Regions from separate parts of the Homo sapiens genome. Here regions 2, 3, 4 and 5 are each linked to region 1. Evidence: promoter capture Hi-C in 16 types of primary human blood cells and fetal thymus (Javierre and others, 2016). All regions are on one chromosome and are shown on one strand. Each heading gives the region's core, a stretch centred on a gene start or on the middle of the fragment in contact. The rest is flanking DNA. Distances are from core to core; before and after follow the strand shown.

Region 1 (3,204 bases), core at 571-3,070:
GAGGCAGGAGGAACACTTGAGACTGGGAGGTGCAATGAGCCACCGCACTCCAGCCTGCACGACAGAGCCAGAGAGACCCTGTCTCAAAAAAAAAAAAAAAAAATCAAATGACCCTTTACCAGTATCAAAGTGCCTCATCAGCCAGGTACCACCTTTTCAATGGATGGGGAGACTGAAGTGTAGAGGAATTAAGTATCCGACTTGGGGGTTGGGGGAAGTGGCTCACGCCTGTAATCCCAACACTTTGGGAGGCCGAGGTGGGAGGATCGCTTGAGCCCAGGAGACCAGCCTGGCCAATATGCCAAAACTCCGTCTCTATAAAAAATACAAAAAATTAGCCTGGCGTGTTGGCAGGCGCCTGTAATTCCAGCTGCTACGGAGGCTGAGGCGGAGAATCACTTGAACCCGGGAGGCAGACGTTGCAGTGAGCCGAGATCGCGCCGTTGCACTCCAGTCTGAGCGACAAAGCAAGACTCCGTCTCAAAAAAAAGAAGAAAGAAAGTATCCGACTTGGTCTTGGGCTCTTCTCACTATAATCCAACTATATTCTCTTACGAAATGGCAGAATTAATCTTCCCTCCTTGTGACACCCCTGTAGTTATACATGCCTCTGGCACTTACAATCATTTTTTCTAATTGTGTTTAACGGTTCTAGCACATTACTTTGTAACTTTAGAATAGAGATTGTGTCTGATTCCTGTGTATTAAGGTCCGACCTTTTTTATTTTTATTTATTTATTTTTTAGACAGAGTCTCGCTCTGTCGCCCAGGCTGGAGTGCAGCGGTCCGATCTCGGCTCACTGCAACCTCCGCCTCCCGGGTTCAAGCGATTCTCCTGCCTCAGCCTCCCGAGTGGCTGGGATTACAGGCATGCATCACCACTCCCGGCTAATTTTTTTGTATTTTTAGTAAAGACTGGGTTTCACCATGTTGGCCAGGCTGGTCTCGAACTCCTGACCATGTGATCCGCCTGCCTCGGCCTCTCAAAGTGCTGGGATTACAGGCGTGAGCCACCGCACCCAGCCGATCTGACCTTTTTTTTTTTTTTTTTTTTTTTTTGAGACGGAATCTCGCTCTATTGCCCAGGCTGGAGTGCAGTGGCGCGATCTCGGCTCACTGCAAGCTCCGCCTCCTGGGTTCACGCCATTCTCCTGCCTCAGCCTCCCAAGTAGCTGGGACTACAGGCGCCCGCCACCGCGCCTGGCTAATTTTTTTGTATTTTTAGTAGAGACGGAGTTTCACTGGGTTAGCCAGAATGGTTTCGATCTCCTGACCTCGTGATCCACCCGTCTCGGCCTCCCAAAGTGCTAGGATTACAGCGTGAGCCAGCGCGCCCAGCCCGATCTGACCTTTTTTAAATGAAGACGTATTCAGGAAGGAAATATCTACAAGTAAGACAAAATTAAGTAAGAACCCAATGTACGAACATTCACTTCTCTAACAAAGGAAAGACACAAAACAAGAAACTAATAAGGCGGAGAAAGGAATTGAGATTGGGGGAAACAGCATCTCCTTCCTCCCTGCACACTCGGCAGGTTCCCTGGAAAGTTCTAGAAGGGATTCAGAAGTGGCTGGTGACATCACTGTGGCTCCGTGGCGCCCACTACAGCAGCCAAACGACACGCTAGCTTTCCCGCCTCATAGAGGCTCGTGAATGGGGGTGGGGCCCTGCGAGGGGCGGGGTCACGTCACTTCCTGTGCGGGACGCGCTGCAGCTGGAGAGGAAAGGCAGAGCGAGGAGGGGCGAGGCCAAGAAAGCGCGCGTTTCTGGGAGGGGAGGAGCCTGGCTAAGGAGCGCCGCGTCACATCCGGTAGAGTTAGAGCCCGTGCGGAGGCGGTGCGGAGCATTTCGGCTCTGAGCGGCTGGGCGACCGGCGCGTCGTGCGGGGCTGCGGCGGAGCCTCCTTAAGGAAGGTGCAAGAGGTTGGCAGCTTCGATTGAAGCACATCGACCGGCGACAGCAGCCAGGAGTCATGAGCGACAGCGGCGAGCAGAACTACGGCGAGCGGGTACGTAGAGCTGCGGTAGGGGGTGGCTGTGTGGTCCTAGCTCCTTGCATCTTTTTCTAGGCCCGTCGGCCTCGGGCCAGGAGGCAGGGGCGTTTTAGGCTCCGAAGTCTGAAGCCGGGAGGGCAGGCAAGGGAGACAGCATTTAACCAAAAAAAGCCTTTGTGGATAGTGCCTTAGTGCCTTTGGTCGTGAAGGAGGGAGGCCCCCGGCGGGTTTATGTGGCTTCTGCCCGAGACGGCCGTTTTTCCCGTTATAAGAGGGGGAAGATGAAAATGGCCGCTGCGTCCCCGCGGTGTTGGGGGAGGGGAGCGATATCTTATTTCGGCGTTGCTCTCCTGCGAAGGTCCGCCGCAGCCATCTTGGGCTGGCGGGCTGGGCGAGCTGCCAGAGGCACAAAATGGCGGAGAAGCCGCGCGGCAACGCGGACCCGACCCGCAGCGGGCCGCGCTTCGTAAGGCCGCGTGGTGGGGTGCAAGGGGACAGACGACGTTCTTTTGGGTCTTTGGGCCGGTGTTTAGGTTAACGAAGGACCGTCTTTGCCTCCACGGAAAGGACGGAGTCTGGGATGTCTTTGGGGCCTCTTAAGATGGAAACTAATCCAAGGCCGACTAAGTTCTGGGCCCGTTAGGTGGAGGGGATTGCGTGAGGGCTTTGTGTTTGGCCTAAATGAAGCGCTTTTCTCTGATGCCGAAAGGGCTTCCCAGGCAAAAATCTGTATCAGTATTCTATTAGGACAGACCACAAAGTCGTTAAGATGATTTTGTGGACATCGCATTTCCACGGGATTGTGAAGGAGAAATTGGCGGGCAACCATTTACGGCGCCGTTATTTCCTTTGTTTTGAGGCGTTCTAATACTTAGAACCACAGCGTGTGTTGGCTACAGTTTTCTTTCCCTTAAGTTTCCACCTCTTAAAGGTGTTCAGTGAGGGTTGATTGAATTGCGGGAACAAGACAGTTCTAGGGTTTAAACAGCATACGTAGCTGGTCTGTGGGGCTCTGGGTATTGGATTCGGAAAGCATTGAATGATGCGAACATACGAGGCTTGCTAGAATTAAGAGGAATCTGTTAGAAGGGTGATAGAAAAGCACCATAGAAATTGATTTTTGAGGCTGTGGGAATAATTTGTGCTTTTTTAAAAAAAAAAAACAATTTGTTACCTAAGTTTCCCCTTGTTGGTAAAGCTACCTTAAGAT
Region 2 (3,204 bases), core at 197-2,696, 1.2 Mb before region 1:
AGTGGTAATACTGACTCCAGGCAGGGAAATGAGACAATTGTTAGAGACGCAGGGATGGAGCTGAGAGGTCCTCCTGGTCTCCAATGGCCCGGCGGTGGCTCGATGGGAGGGAGAGCGCCCCCTGGAGGCATTGGCGGTTCCTGGCTCGTGTGCTCGCGGGAACCCAAGCTGTGAGCCTCTGGCCCCGCCAGGGCGTACGAATCCTTTCCTCGTTTATCCAGTATTAAGTCACGCTGTGTGCTAAGTACCGTGGCCAGGCAGCAGCTAGACAACGCGCTGAGGTAAAATAGAGAACTAAGGAAGAATGGGGGACCCCAAAGTCAACTTGGTGACACATCACACGCAGGAGTCGGACCCACGGCTCCCCGAGCCACAGCTCAGTGGGGCGGGACCGCCCGGGCCTGGGCGGGGCCGGGGCGGGGCCTGTCACGGGGGAAATCACCGCCCTAGCATCCGGGGAAATCGCGGTCTTAGCATCCGGCGCGCGGCGGTTGAATTGCTGCGCCCAGCGAGGCAACCGCCTCCGAACGCCAGGTGGGGGCGAGGCGTCTCGGAGTCTCAGAGACACCAAGGCCCCTGCGACAAGGTGGCTGCAGCTAGGCCGGGGGCGTCAGGACGACGGAGCGGGTTCGGGTCGGTGACACGCAGACCTGAGGGAGCTGGGCCCGCCTTTTCCGCCCGCGCCCCAGGCCCTTGCAGATCGAGATTTGCGTCCTAGAGTGGGAAAAAAGCAGAGGCCAGGGCGCCGGTAAGTAAAGGTTCCTCCTCACCCGCCGCCAGGGCCCGGTCCGCCCAACGAGCAGGGCGGCGTGAGGGTCACGGGCTGGAAACAACAATGCCACAGCTCAAGCCGACTCCAACAGTAGTAGCGTTTTTGTTTGTTTGTTTGTTTGTTTGTTTTTTGAGACAGGGTCTCCCTCCGTCGCCCAGGCTGGAGTGCAGTGGTGTGATCTCGGCTCACTGCAACCTCCGCCTCCGGATTCAAGCGATTCTCCCGCCTTAGCCTCCTGAGTAGCTGGGGTTACAGGCGCGCGCCACCACACTCGGCTAATTTTTGTATTTTTAGTAAAGACGGGTTTCACCATATTGGTCACACCAGTCTCGAACTCCCGACCTCAGGTGATCCGCCCGCCTCGGCCTCCCAAAGTGCTGGGATTACAGGCGTGAGGCACTGCTCCTGGCCTACAGTAGTGGCTTCTGGAGGCCACTCAGGCACCCCCTGTTTCTAGCTTAGAGAAGGAGGAAATCGACAATAAAGTAGCCTTAAAGGGATCCATGTTCCGCCCTGCCACCTCTTCAGATGTCAGCGTTGTCCAACTAGTGTCCCTAGAATTACCCAGGATGTGAGTGGCACTGATTCATCAGTGGTTTAATCAGCAAAACCAAGTGTCTTACCTATCTGCCTCATCTGCTCACTGCCTCTTTCCAAGGCGTTCTCACAGGCGCAAACACTTTCTTTTCCTCCATTAATTCCAGTAGGTAAGATTTTGCAGTCTCCTTTAAGGTCCCCGTTTCTCAAAGATAGCCCAAGGAATCTCGCCACTTCCTTGCCTTTTACACATCTGGATTCATCCAGAGACATAAACCCTGACCAGGACTAGCTTCAAAAGGGTCCCACCCGTGCAGTCACATAGGGCTCAGAAGGGCCCTGTACTTACTTTCTTGCTCTGCTATGGCAATCTTGAAATTCTTAATTTTTAAACCAGCACCCGCCTCCCCTCCCCGCCACCTCCACAACATTTTCATTTTGCACTGGGCCTGGCCTTAATTCTCAATTTTCTCAAAGGCTGTCATGTAACTATATAAAAATATAGTTAAAAGAGTTTCTTCTCTAGACATGTCTTTAGTCACTAGGACATCAAGAGACAGGACGGATGCTTCTATTAACTGAGAGTTGTTGGAATCATAAAGGCTTTGTAATCCAATAGTCACCCTCCACGCCTTCTCAATTTCAGAACCTAAGAGAGTTTGCTTAGAGAAAGAACCTGAGAGGTTGTAAAGCTGAGCTGACCAAAGCTCATTGAATCACATGTAGCTATTCAGCACTTGAAATGTGGCTGGTCTGAAAAAAGATGTGCTACAAATGTTAAAACGCACACCAGCTTTTAAAGTCTCTTTTTTTCCTTTTTTTTTTTTTTTGAGACGGAGTATCCTTCTGTCGCTGGAGTGCAGTGGCGCAATCCTGGCTCACTGCAACTTCTGCTGCCTGGGTTCAAGTGATTCTCCCGTCTCAGCCTCCCGAGTAGCTGGGATTGTGGTAGCTGTGCCTGCCACCACACCCGGCTAATTTTTGTATTTTTAGTAAAGACGGGGTTTCACCATGTTGGCCATGGTTGGCCAGGCTGGTCTCGAATTCCTGACCTCAGATGATCTGCCCGCATCAGCCTCCCAAAGTGCTGGGATTGCAGGCGTGAGCCACCGCACCCGGCCAATTTTTCTTTTTCTTTTTTGAAGACGGAGTCTTACTCTGTTGCCCAGGCTGGAGTGCAGTGGTGCAACCTCGGCTCACTGCAGCCTCCGCCTCCCGGGTTCAGGTGATCCTCCTGCCTCACCTCCCCAAGTAGCTGGGACTACAGGCATGTGCCACCACGCTGTCTAATTATTTTGTATTTTTAGTAGAGACGGGGTTTCACCATGTTGGCCAGGCTGGTCTGGAACTCCTGACCTCAGGTGATCCTGAGCATTTTGGCCTCCCAAAATGCTGGGATTACAGGTGTGAGCCACTGCACCTGACACTTTTTTTTTTTTTTTTTTTTTTTTTTGAGGAAGAGTGTTGTTCTGTTGCCCAAGCTGGAGTGCATTGACTCAATCATGACTCACTACAACCTCATCTCCTCGGCTCAAGCCATCCTCTTGCTGCCTCAGCCTCCCGATCACAGGCATGCACCACCATGCCCAGCTAATTTTTAAATTTTTTTGTAGAGATGAGGTCTCACTATGAGAAACATACTCGGGCTGATCTCAAACTCCTGAGTTGAAGCAATCCTCTCGCCTCCCAAAATGTTAGGATTACAAGTGTGAGCCACTGCACTCAGCCTAAAGTCTCCTTTTTAATTTAAAATATTTTATCCACCTTTATATTAATTACATGCTTAAATGGTATTTTAAATAAATCAGATTAAATAAAATATATTCAAATTAATTTTACCTGTTCCTATTTATTTTTTAACATGACTCAGAAAATTTTAAATTGTAACTATATGT
Region 3 (3,204 bases), core at 466-2,965, 1.2 Mb before region 1:
CATATAGCCAGAGGTATGTAATTCAATATTTTCTTGAGAAAATTGAACTCCTTGAGGTCCTCTGAATCACCTGAGATGTGTGGGGCAATTCCTAAGTGTAATCATTCCTTTTAAGGTAAAACTGCCCTCATAACCATTACTATTGTACTAGAATGAGGACTACTGACTTACTGGCTATAAGCTTATTTCAGTTGGCATTATAGCCAGTTCTTTCAGTTCTTTCACTGTCTCCAATGCAGATAGCAGATATCTCTTTGAGTTTCTTTTTAAAAGTTTCCATGAGAGTTAGTTCTAGCTAAGAGCTGTATGTCACTGGCATTGAGCTTTCAGGAAATACCTGGTCAGAGCTTCTAGCCCAAAGTGTCTCCAGAGGTGAGCACACTATCATCCTCTTCATTGGAAATGAATACTTGGAATAGTACAGTAAACTATTTGTCCTACTGTAGTTCTTTATCTTACTACAGTAGATTTTTCTTACAGAAGACTTTCAAACAAGATTGGCTTCAAGAACCCTAACCAGTACAACCAGGGTTCCCAAGGGAGAGGGTGTTAAGACTCTGGGTTTGTTGGCAACCCAGTCTAGTTCTTTCCCTGTATTCTTGAAGACTTTTTTTCTGAAGTGGTTGGAGCCAAATAGTCACTGATAGATTGTATAGAGGGAATTAATATACAAAGGGTAGAACAGGGTCTGCTAGATAGCTAGCTAAAGTCAGCATGTGGTCAATTTAAGATGAACTGTGATTGGTAGCTAAAAGTTCTTTGCTGCTAATGTATGGGAAGAAAATAAAAGGATTGGGCAGAAATAGTAGTGTACTTTCCCTATCTTTATCACCCATTTGGCATTTTCAGGCCTATTTGTTATTCTCGTAACCTGTAGACTCCTACAAGGATACTTGCGGCTTAGTTTTCAATGTTTTATATTTCATGAAACATTTGTATCTCAACCACACCCCACACTATACCCCAACTTAGTTGCCTACTCATCTGTTACTTGCACATAAAGTCTCCTGCTCCTGAAAGTTCCCAGTGGGAAGATGTACAAATCTGGGGACACTGGCCTCCCCACTAGGGCAGTTGTCTCAGAAGTGTCTGAAGTTTGGATATTAGGGTTGAAAGGCAGACAGTATAATTAGCACTCTTATTTCTTCTGGTATTTCCTTACCATGATATTTATGGGTTGCCCATCAATTTGGACTTTTTTTCCACCCCATTTTTCAATACCTAGACTAATAGGTATTTCTATTGAGAACTTCCTTTTTCTCTTTTTTAAATTTTCCTCTATTTTCTTTTGGTTATTTTGAGAGCTGAAATTCACAGAAGTATCCTAAATTATCTTTTCCAAAATTGTTATAGCAAAGACTGCTAGTTATCTACTCTGCTATTCATTCTTCTTCCTTTTTCTTTAGCAGAACCTGATTTGTGTGGGGTTAGGGGCATCATGTGCTCAGCTAAAAAACTATAGTGCCCATCCTTCATTACTGCTAAGGATGGCAGTGGAACACAGTTCTTGCCAATAAGGTGTAATCAAAGGTATTGAGAGAGATACCTAGTAAAGCTCCTTAAAAGCCGGTAGCCTCACAGCATGTACTCTTTTGCCTTTCTTTCTTTCTTTCTCTTCTTCCTGCCTGCATGTTAGGGGAGATGCCAGACATAGAATAAACATCTCACAACAGTGAGCCATAAGACAGAAACCAAGATAATAGCTTGGGTCACATCTGAAGAGACTGGGTTAGACACTGTGTGTGAACTCAGACAGTCAGAAACAGTCATACTTTTTGCACACTACCACTATCCCCATTATCTTAGAGTTAAAAAAAAATGCCTTTGTCATGACAGATCCATACTGTTTGTATATCTCCAACACTGTTTGCAGTAAGACTTTACTGCCATCATGTAATTACTCTCACAATCTGAGATGTAGACATTATTTTGCATCTGAATCATTAAAAATAACTACTGTGTCTCTGGCCCCAGGTTGATGTTCGTTAATTATGGAGGACCCAAGATCTTTAAATGGAGTGGTAGCATGCAATTCAGTAGATGGCAATGTGGTCAATTTTGATAATTAGATAAAAATATTAGTATGCACAGCCAGTGGCTTTTAAAATAGTAGTAACATGAAAGTACCGTGAGATAGTTTTACAGCAAATCGCATGTTTTAAATGTATACATTCATATTTTAAGTGTTGTGGGGATGAATTACTTGTTTTATAGGTTTCTATTTTCAACCATGTTTTCCTGTTCTGTACTATTTGCCATAGCAGGACACTGGAAAAGATTTAAGACCTCCAAATGTAAAGGGTTATTGAGAAAGAGTTGCCAAAAAAGGGTCACATATTAGTTAGATAAGTTGTAGTTACAAAATAATATCTACAATATCTCAATTTATAGAAAGACAATATTCTGCATGTACATCTGTCTTAACTGGAAGGCTCTTATAATATCAAGTTGTTAATATTGGGGCTTTTTCTAGCTAGATGGGATAATAGTTTTTTTTAGTGTTCTATTGCTTTAATTTTTCTGTAATGAACTGGTATTACCTGTTCGTAACTTTTTTAAAGTTGAAAATAATTCCTCTTGATGGACATTTAACAAGAGAAGCAGAAGTATGTTGCTGAGAAATGAGTAGCATCAAGTCAGGAACAGTAGGAACAAAGGGACTCCTGCCTTTGCTGCTGATCCACCAGAACAGCCATCAGACTCCTCAGACCGCTGCTGGCTCCTGAGCTGCTCCTGAGCTGCCTGTGGGATCCTGAGTGGCAATGAGCCCTCGCTGTGGCACTAAAGATCCTCTTTCTTGTCTTGTTATTTCTTCATGTTACCTTATCCTATCCTATGGTAATATTGTCTCTGTCTCTCTCTCCCTTTCTCCGCCATAGTGGTGTGTGGTTGACTCTGTTTCTCGCCATGTCTTCTCACAAGACTTTCACCATTAAGCGATTCCTGGCCAAGAAACAAAAGCAAAATCGTCCCATCCCCCAGTGGATTCAGATGAAACCTGGTAGTAAAATCAGGTACAACTCCAAAAGGAGGCATTGGAGAAGAACCAAGCTGGGTCTATAAGGAATTGCACATGAGATGGCACACATATTTATGCTGTATCAAGTTCACGATCATCTTACGATATCAAGCTGAAAATGTCACCACTACCTGGACAGTTGCACATGTTTTACTGGGAATATTTTTTTCTGTTTTTCTGTATGC
Region 4 (3,204 bases), core at 260-2,759, 1.1 Mb before region 1:
TAAAATGGTGGTTGGTGGTCATACCTCACAGGGTTTGCCATGAAGATCAAATGAGAGAAGGCATGTAAGACCCTTAGATGGTATATATAATATATTTAACAAATGGCATCAACTATTATTTCAAGATAAGCCCCACTGAGTAATCTGGAAATGTCCTGGTTGCAGTCCAGTCAGTGTGGACTGTTGCTAGGCATATAGGAAGTAGGTCTTCTCTCTCCAGCTAGCACAAAAGCTTCCAAGGAAGCCACTGGGTCTTCTTGTCCCATTGTCTCCTCTCTCAGGCCCACAGGGTACAGGAGGTACTGAGTTGAGTCTCACAGAAACCTTCTTACTCTTATAGTCAAAACTGCATTTATTTAAAGACCTGTCCATTTACATATATCATTTTTCCTGTTGACTCTCATAGCCACACCTGGCACAGAAGTGTCACATGCCTGACTAGGTCTGCTGGCCTGAAACCTAACAGTATGACACCATTCTCTATAAAAAGCCACCTTCTCAATAAGAAAAGTGCCTTTTTTGTTTTGCATGCCTTCATCATGGCCAAGGGAGGGGAGCTGAACAAATGTGGGTCCAGATGGCTTTAGAAGAGAGCTGCTAAAGCCAGGCGCAGTGGCTCATGCCTGTAATCCCAGCACTTTGGGAGGCTGAGGCAGGTGGATCACCTGAGGTCAGGAGTTTGAGACTAGTCTGGCAAACATGGCAAAACCCTGTCTCTACTAAAAATACAAAAAATTAGCTGGGCATGGTGGTGCATGCCTGTAATCTCAGCTACTTGGGAGACCGAGGCAGGGGAATCACTTGAACCCAGGAGGCAGAGCAGGGAGCCGAGAGTGCACCACTGCACTCCAGCCTGAGCGCAAGAGCAAAACTCTGTCTCAAAAAAAAAAAAAAAGAAAAAGAAGAGAGCTGCTGTCAGGAGACCTCTCCGTCTGGGAAAAGAACAAGCCACTCAGAGGCAGAATTCTACCAAAGCAACAGCTATTCTCTCAGTGACTTCTGGGTGCCAGATGTTCTCCTTGTGGAGTGGGGGTGGGGACCCCGTTTACTAATCCACAGAAACAGACACAAAATAGTTAGGATAACTGACCAGGACAAAAGATAGAGAAGACAGACCACCAGCTTTTTAGGATATCAAGGTAAGAAAGGGCAATGATAGAAAGTGTCCATCACAGTTCAGTACCACCACAAGTGCTGTCATGGAGCGGCCAGGACTCGAGTACGAAAGGAACAGCCAGATACTTAGTGTTGCTTACAGGAGGTGAGAAAAGAGAGCTGACTTGCCTAAGAAGCAGCAGGAAAGGCTCTCTTGAGGGTGGGTAGTGTATCCCGGGAAGTGGGCCACCTTCCTCGCAGCCCTGGCACAATGGTGCACAGAGATCTAGAAGTGTAATGGGAAAAAAATCTGCTTCAGTAGAAAGCCATGCATTTTCTGAGCACACTCTTCCTCCCTGTCAGATTCTGATTCCACGGGAGCTATTTCGCAACCCTTTGTGAATTGTAGGCAACTAATACATGTGCCTACTGGGCAGGATGCTGCCCAGGAGAGTTTCAATTGATTTCTCCCCTCCCCCTGCCTTATCTCACAGAAAAACTAGTTCAACTCCTTTACTCCAAATTTGTGTTGCTTTGACTTTTCCTTTGAACCAGTTGTAATATCTGCCTGGTTCCATCATACGAGTAAAATAAAATCTTCATGATGAATTCATTTTTAATATCTGTATGAGAGTCATCATCTTACCTTTTTTTCCCTAAAAATTATCCTTTAACAGAAGTTTTGCCTCCCTTCTGCTAGATGCCTCTCAAGTGGTCTCAAGCTGACTCACCTTCCCTGTTGGGATTTGGGAAGGTGGAGTCATTCGCAAACAGGCAGAGGCAGACATTCAGGTTTCAGTAGTGCCCATCGCTACTATTTACAAAGCACTTGCTGCATACCAGCCTCTGGGTGACATGCTCCACACATAGTAACTCCTTTGATCCTAAAAAAAAACCCTGGATAGTAACTATTCATATTTCTGTGTTACAAGTAAGGGAAATGAGGCTCAGAAAGGTAAAGTAAAGCAACTTGCTGAAGTCACTCACACAGGAAGTGTTGGGGGAGGGATCTGATCAAAGCCTGCCTGACTCCAGTACTCTTAATTCCCAGGCAACCTTACTTTGGCCTTAAATACAGTTTCAAATCTTTGCAGGACTGGGGTTTCGTTCTTCACAGTGAGGAAGACTGAATCATCACGAAGAAGTGCTCAGAGAGTAGGTAGCCTCCGCAGTCCAAGAGAGTGCTCAGGGAGGGCTCCTCCCCTCTCCCCTCTCCTCTTTGCTGCTGCCTGCTCACCTCCAGATCCTACCATCCATGTATCAAACAGAGATTGGTTTCTCTCTAAATTCATTCTCTTCAACCTCAAAGTAGCCCAGCATGGCCTGGAAATCCTACTCCATTCATCAGGTTTACTGACGGTCCCACTCACCTCAATGACAATTATAAATCTCTTTGTTCAAACCTTCTCTACTAAAACCTCTTTCCCCCTCAGCCTCCTTCTGACTTGGCCTTGCATGCCACTTTGCAGAGAAAATAGAAGCCCTCTCATCCTTCTAATACTGACTGCCTCCAGCTACACCACTCGCACCTTCTTCCCTCTGACTCCCGCCTGCTGGGGTTCATCCTCCACTACGCTTTGGCTCCACCACCATCATGTTGTGGGTAACTAATCATTTTCTCCTCTTTTTAGTATATTCACTTTCTCCCTCTATCAACTGGTTTCTCCCTGTTGATTTAAAAGAAAGCTTTTAAAATATACATAACATAAAATTGACCATTTTAGCAACTTTAAGTATTCAGCTTAGTACATTCCTATTGTTGTGTAACTATCACCACCATCTCCAGAACTTTTTCAGCTTCCCAAAATGAATCACAGTATTCATTAAACAACAATTCCACATTCCTTTCTCCTCCTAGCCCTTGGCAAACATCATTCTACTTTGTTTCTACTCCAGGTGTTCCATATAAAGTGGAATCATACAGTGTTTGTACTTCTGTGACTGTCTCCCCTACTGACATTTTTTCCAATTTAAAAATTGTATTAAAATACATATAACATAACATTGACTATCTTAACCATTTTTAAGTGTACAGTTCAGTGATATTAAGTACATTTGTATTGTTGTGCAACTATCACCACAAACCATCTCCAAAACTTTTTCAGTCTT
Region 5 (3,204 bases), core at 705-3,204, 1.1 Mb before region 1:
CCCAACACCCCTTCAAAATGGCCAGAAAAAGACTTCTCGTTATAGATGATGCCATAGATTTCTGATGTATCTCTCTAAGGGCTGCGATGCTGGACTCCTGCATGAGAAGATCGAGGGTTATCTCCACCACAGTTTTGTGCAGTGCCCTGCAAGAAGAGCACTGCTGAGACAGGAAGCTGACTCACCTCATGATAGAGGCTAGGAATTCTGGGTAAGATAGCAGACATGTAGCCAACTAAGGAAATGGAAACAAAAATTCATTAAGCACGCTAGATGTTATTTCACTTAACTTCACCATAACCAGGGCCACCATGAGACACAACTCTGGGGGCACCACGCATAGCATAGTCTAATACGAAGGGCATCTCCTAACCTGTACAGGGTTCACTTCAAAGGTGTTATAATCTCCATTTTATGGATTAGCAACCTGAGGCTCTAAGAAGTCAAGGGAAGTGCCCAAGCTCACAGAGCTGAGGAAATGGTTGCACTGAGGTTCAAATCGAAGTGGATTTGATTCCATAACCCATGTCCTTTCCAGTACAACATGCACAGAACTGCAAGAAGCTCTGGAAAATAGATTTCACTGAGCAAATAGAGACTGAATAGTCTCTTTATTTCTGAGTAAACACCTACTTTGTTTTCTCAGAATTTATTGTGTAACTGAATGGAAACTGGAAGCACTTTGAACTCAAATAATGTCTGTATCTTTTGGAAAACATTACATTCTTTCCCCAATCACTGGGTTTATTTACAATAATAAATCAAAGCAATCACCTCCGGGGTTTTGCTAACCCACTAGGGGTCTGAGGTCCCTTCCCATGGATCCCGCTCCTAAGGATATCAGGAAAAGGTAGTAGGAGTACTGGACTGGGTGTTCACAAAACCTGGGTTCTTATCCCCATTCTTGGTGACCTTGGGCAGGTCACTTAATATTTCTGCCCCTGAGTTTTTCAGAATAATTATCTCTGCCCTATGTGATTTGCAGAGTGTTGGGAGGGCAAAACAAGAGCATGGTATTCATTGGATTTGAACTAGATAAGCAAAAAGGCACAGAAGGTATTCTGAACAGAGACAGGAGAGCAGCAGCTCAGCCTGGGGGCCATGTGGAGGTGATACGGGTAGTGAAGACAGCAGTGTGAAGCCACAGCCATGACTCAGCAGCCCTGAGCTCCAGGCTCTTCCCTGGGAATTCTCCATGAACTGACATCCAGCTCATTCCTGGAATCCATTGGCAGTACCAACCAAAGCAGTGCTTCCACCATCCCAGACCTCAGGAACCAGTGACTCTGGGAACGATGGGCTCCTATCTTGGGCTGCTGAAGTTGTGGAAATGATTAAATGTACACAGTGGAAGAAGAATTCAGATAGAAGATCATGAAGTGAAGGGTGGAAGCTTGTTGTATTACCAGAAACTAAGGAATTCAATTTCCGCAGACACCCAACACAGGTAATCACATGACCATATGACAACTGAAGAAGAACTAGAGAAAAGAAGGAAAGTAGCATTTAAGGAGGGCCTACTACGTGGTAGTCACTTTCCTTGCAATATCTCATTGAACCTTTACTACAACACTATGATAGAGATATTGACAATCCTATTTTAGGAAATGGAAAAAACTGAGACTTAGCAAGGTTATAGGGTTTCTCCAATGTCAACAGCAAGTCAGTTCTAGAACCAGAATTCCAGCCCAGGTCTGTCTGACTCTAAAAGTTCATCATCTTTCCACCCAAGGACATGCATCTGTGATAAGGGACAGTGAGAAGTCAGTGTGATCAAGTCGGACTCAAGGTCACTAGAGAGGCAACTTCGTCTGTCAGACAGTCGCAGACAAGCCACCTTCACCATCAGTGCTGCACCTGCCATCCCTGCTGTGCACTGAGTGGTAACACTCAGGTACTTTCCGTATTGGTAAGGTTTTACAGACCTATTATACTCCCGTGAGATAAGCACAGCAGATTTTATGAGCTCCATTTATAGCTGAGTATAGTGAGGTTTGGAAATACAAATAATTTTCAAAGTTGCATGAGTGATTTGGAAATAGTGGACTTAGAACCTGACTTTCACATGTCTGAATGAAACAAGATGGCAGGAAGGGCCTGATTCACTGTCACAGGAGTGGAGGCTCAGGCAGCAGCTGCCCAGTACCTACTCTCCAAGGTGTGGTTTCCCAGGAAAGAAGAGTTCCTCCAAACAGCTGGGTCTAGCGACAGTCTTGCAACCATCAGACAGCCTCAGCCTTCACAGCCTGTGCTCTGTCATGGCCTCAGGGCACTCATCTGAAATCTCACATAAGGGCTCATGTGGTCCCTTGACACCACCCTTGGTTGAGGCTCCAAGTCCACCAGGTGGCTGGAGTTTCTGGTCACAGGCACTTATAACTGCAAGACCCTTTCTCATCTCTCAAATTGTCTGAAGAAGGCAGAGGCTGAAGAAACTTTCTCTAAATGGCGCAACCGAGGGAAAAGAGTAGCAAACTTTTCTCTACAAATGTTTTGGAAAAACACACTAAGCTTTGAATTTTCCAATTACACCAGACTGTGTTAAGCCTCCAGGTGTCTGCACTGCTGCACTCTTTCTCCTTGTCCATGTGCCTGCCAGCTCTGACAGCATCACCTTTCTGCTTCTGAAGGTCAGTGGAGGCCACCTCCCCTTCCGCACTATCCCTGCTCCCCTTTGCTGCCAGCCAGTGCTTTGTAATGCTTGCTTTTCATGCCTGACTTTGCTGCTCAAGGAAAACTCCTCCTGGTATCCTTTCTGAAACCCTAGTACCCAGCACAGTGCCTGGACCAGAGCGGATACTCAATGAAAGATTATTGAACTGATGCAATTGTATCAGAGAATCTTTACAATCATCACGAGGCTTCTAGAGGAAGAACACAGCGACTTGCATCATCACCTTCAAAGAACTGGCCAACACTGAACCGGCAGAAATCAATGCTCAAAGCAAGGAAATCCTGTCCCGACCCACCCGTCATGACATACTCAGTACCAGTTGCATTCGTGGCAGGTAGTAGGTACTCAGAATGGTTGACTGAAATACAGAATAACTTAAATCTTATATAGTTAATAGAAATGGACAAGCCATTTCTCTACACCCCCCAATGAAACCCACATTGAATCAGCAGTTAAAGAGGACTAAAAAATACATACAAAAAGAAAACAGCAAAGCTGGAGCCAGATACTGAGATCCTGAGATTCCCTGC

The links. The method cuts DNA at HindIII sites, captures the fragments that hold promoters and counts their contacts. A CHiCAGO score of 5 or more calls a contact.
Region 2: a contact is called between a fragment that was not itself captured here and the fragment with the promoter of TRA2B in region 1, in 3 of 17 cell types (naive CD8 T cells, total B cells and naive CD4 T cells). The highest score is 7.0, in naive CD8 T cells.
Region 3: a fragment that was not itself captured here is called in contact with the fragment with the promoter of TRA2B in region 1 in 1 of 17 cell types (activated CD4 T cells); the score reaches 6.7 in activated CD4 T cells.
Region 4: a contact is called between a fragment that was not itself captured here and the fragment with the promoter of TRA2B in region 1, in 1 of 17 cell types (activated CD4 T cells). The highest score is 8.4, in activated CD4 T cells.
Region 5: a fragment that was not itself captured here is called in contact with the fragment with the promoter of TRA2B in region 1 in 2 of 17 cell types (activated CD4 T cells and naive CD8 T cells); the score reaches 5.5 in activated CD4 T cells.

The regions. Positions count from the first base shown.
Region 1 is chr3:185,936,630-185,939,833 of GRCh38, reverse strand. It overlaps TRA2B (transformer 2 beta homolog), which reads left to right and starts at 1,820. Exons shown (of 9, transcript NM_004593.3): 1 at 1,820-2,009. The coding sequence starts at 1,974. RefSeq lists enhancers at 1,889-2,348, 1,759-2,486, 2,389-2,598. The HindIII fragment of the contact is 7,639 bases long and covers 1-3,204 here.
Region 2 is chr3:187,136,757-187,139,960 of GRCh38, reverse strand. RPL39L (ribosomal protein L39 like) reads left to right here and starts at 465. Exons shown (of 3, transcript NM_052969.3): 1 at 465-748. RefSeq lists a silencer at 325-554 and enhancers at 595-744, 785-884, 753-1,259, 2,449-2,949. The HindIII fragment of the contact is 4,719 bases long and covers 1-3,204 here.
Region 3 is chr3:187,121,004-187,124,207 of GRCh38, reverse strand. RPL39L (ribosomal protein L39 like) reads left to right here. Exons shown (of 3, transcript NM_052969.3): 3 at 2,880-3,204. The coding sequence starts at 2,908. The coding sequence ends at 3,063. It also overlaps the pseudogene RPL39P19. Among named protein-coding and RNA genes, the nearest start is that of RPL39L, 17 kb to the left of the region's middle. The HindIII fragment of the contact is 3,064 bases long and covers 184-3,204 here.
Region 4 is chr3:187,062,697-187,065,900 of GRCh38, reverse strand. The region is part of intron 5 of ST6GAL1 (ST6 beta-galactoside alpha-2,6-sialyltransferase 1); the gene reads right to left. Among named protein-coding and RNA genes, the nearest start is that of RPL39L, 75 kb to the left of the region's middle. RefSeq lists an enhancer at 88-267. The HindIII fragment of the contact is 2,549 bases long and covers 235-2,783 here.
Region 5 is chr3:187,038,948-187,042,151 of GRCh38, reverse strand. The region is part of intron 3 of ST6GAL1 (ST6 beta-galactoside alpha-2,6-sialyltransferase 1); the gene reads right to left. Among named protein-coding and RNA genes, the nearest start is that of RPL39L, 99 kb to the left of the region's middle. RefSeq lists an enhancer at 249-318. The HindIII fragment of the contact is 1,118 bases long and covers 1,396-2,513 here.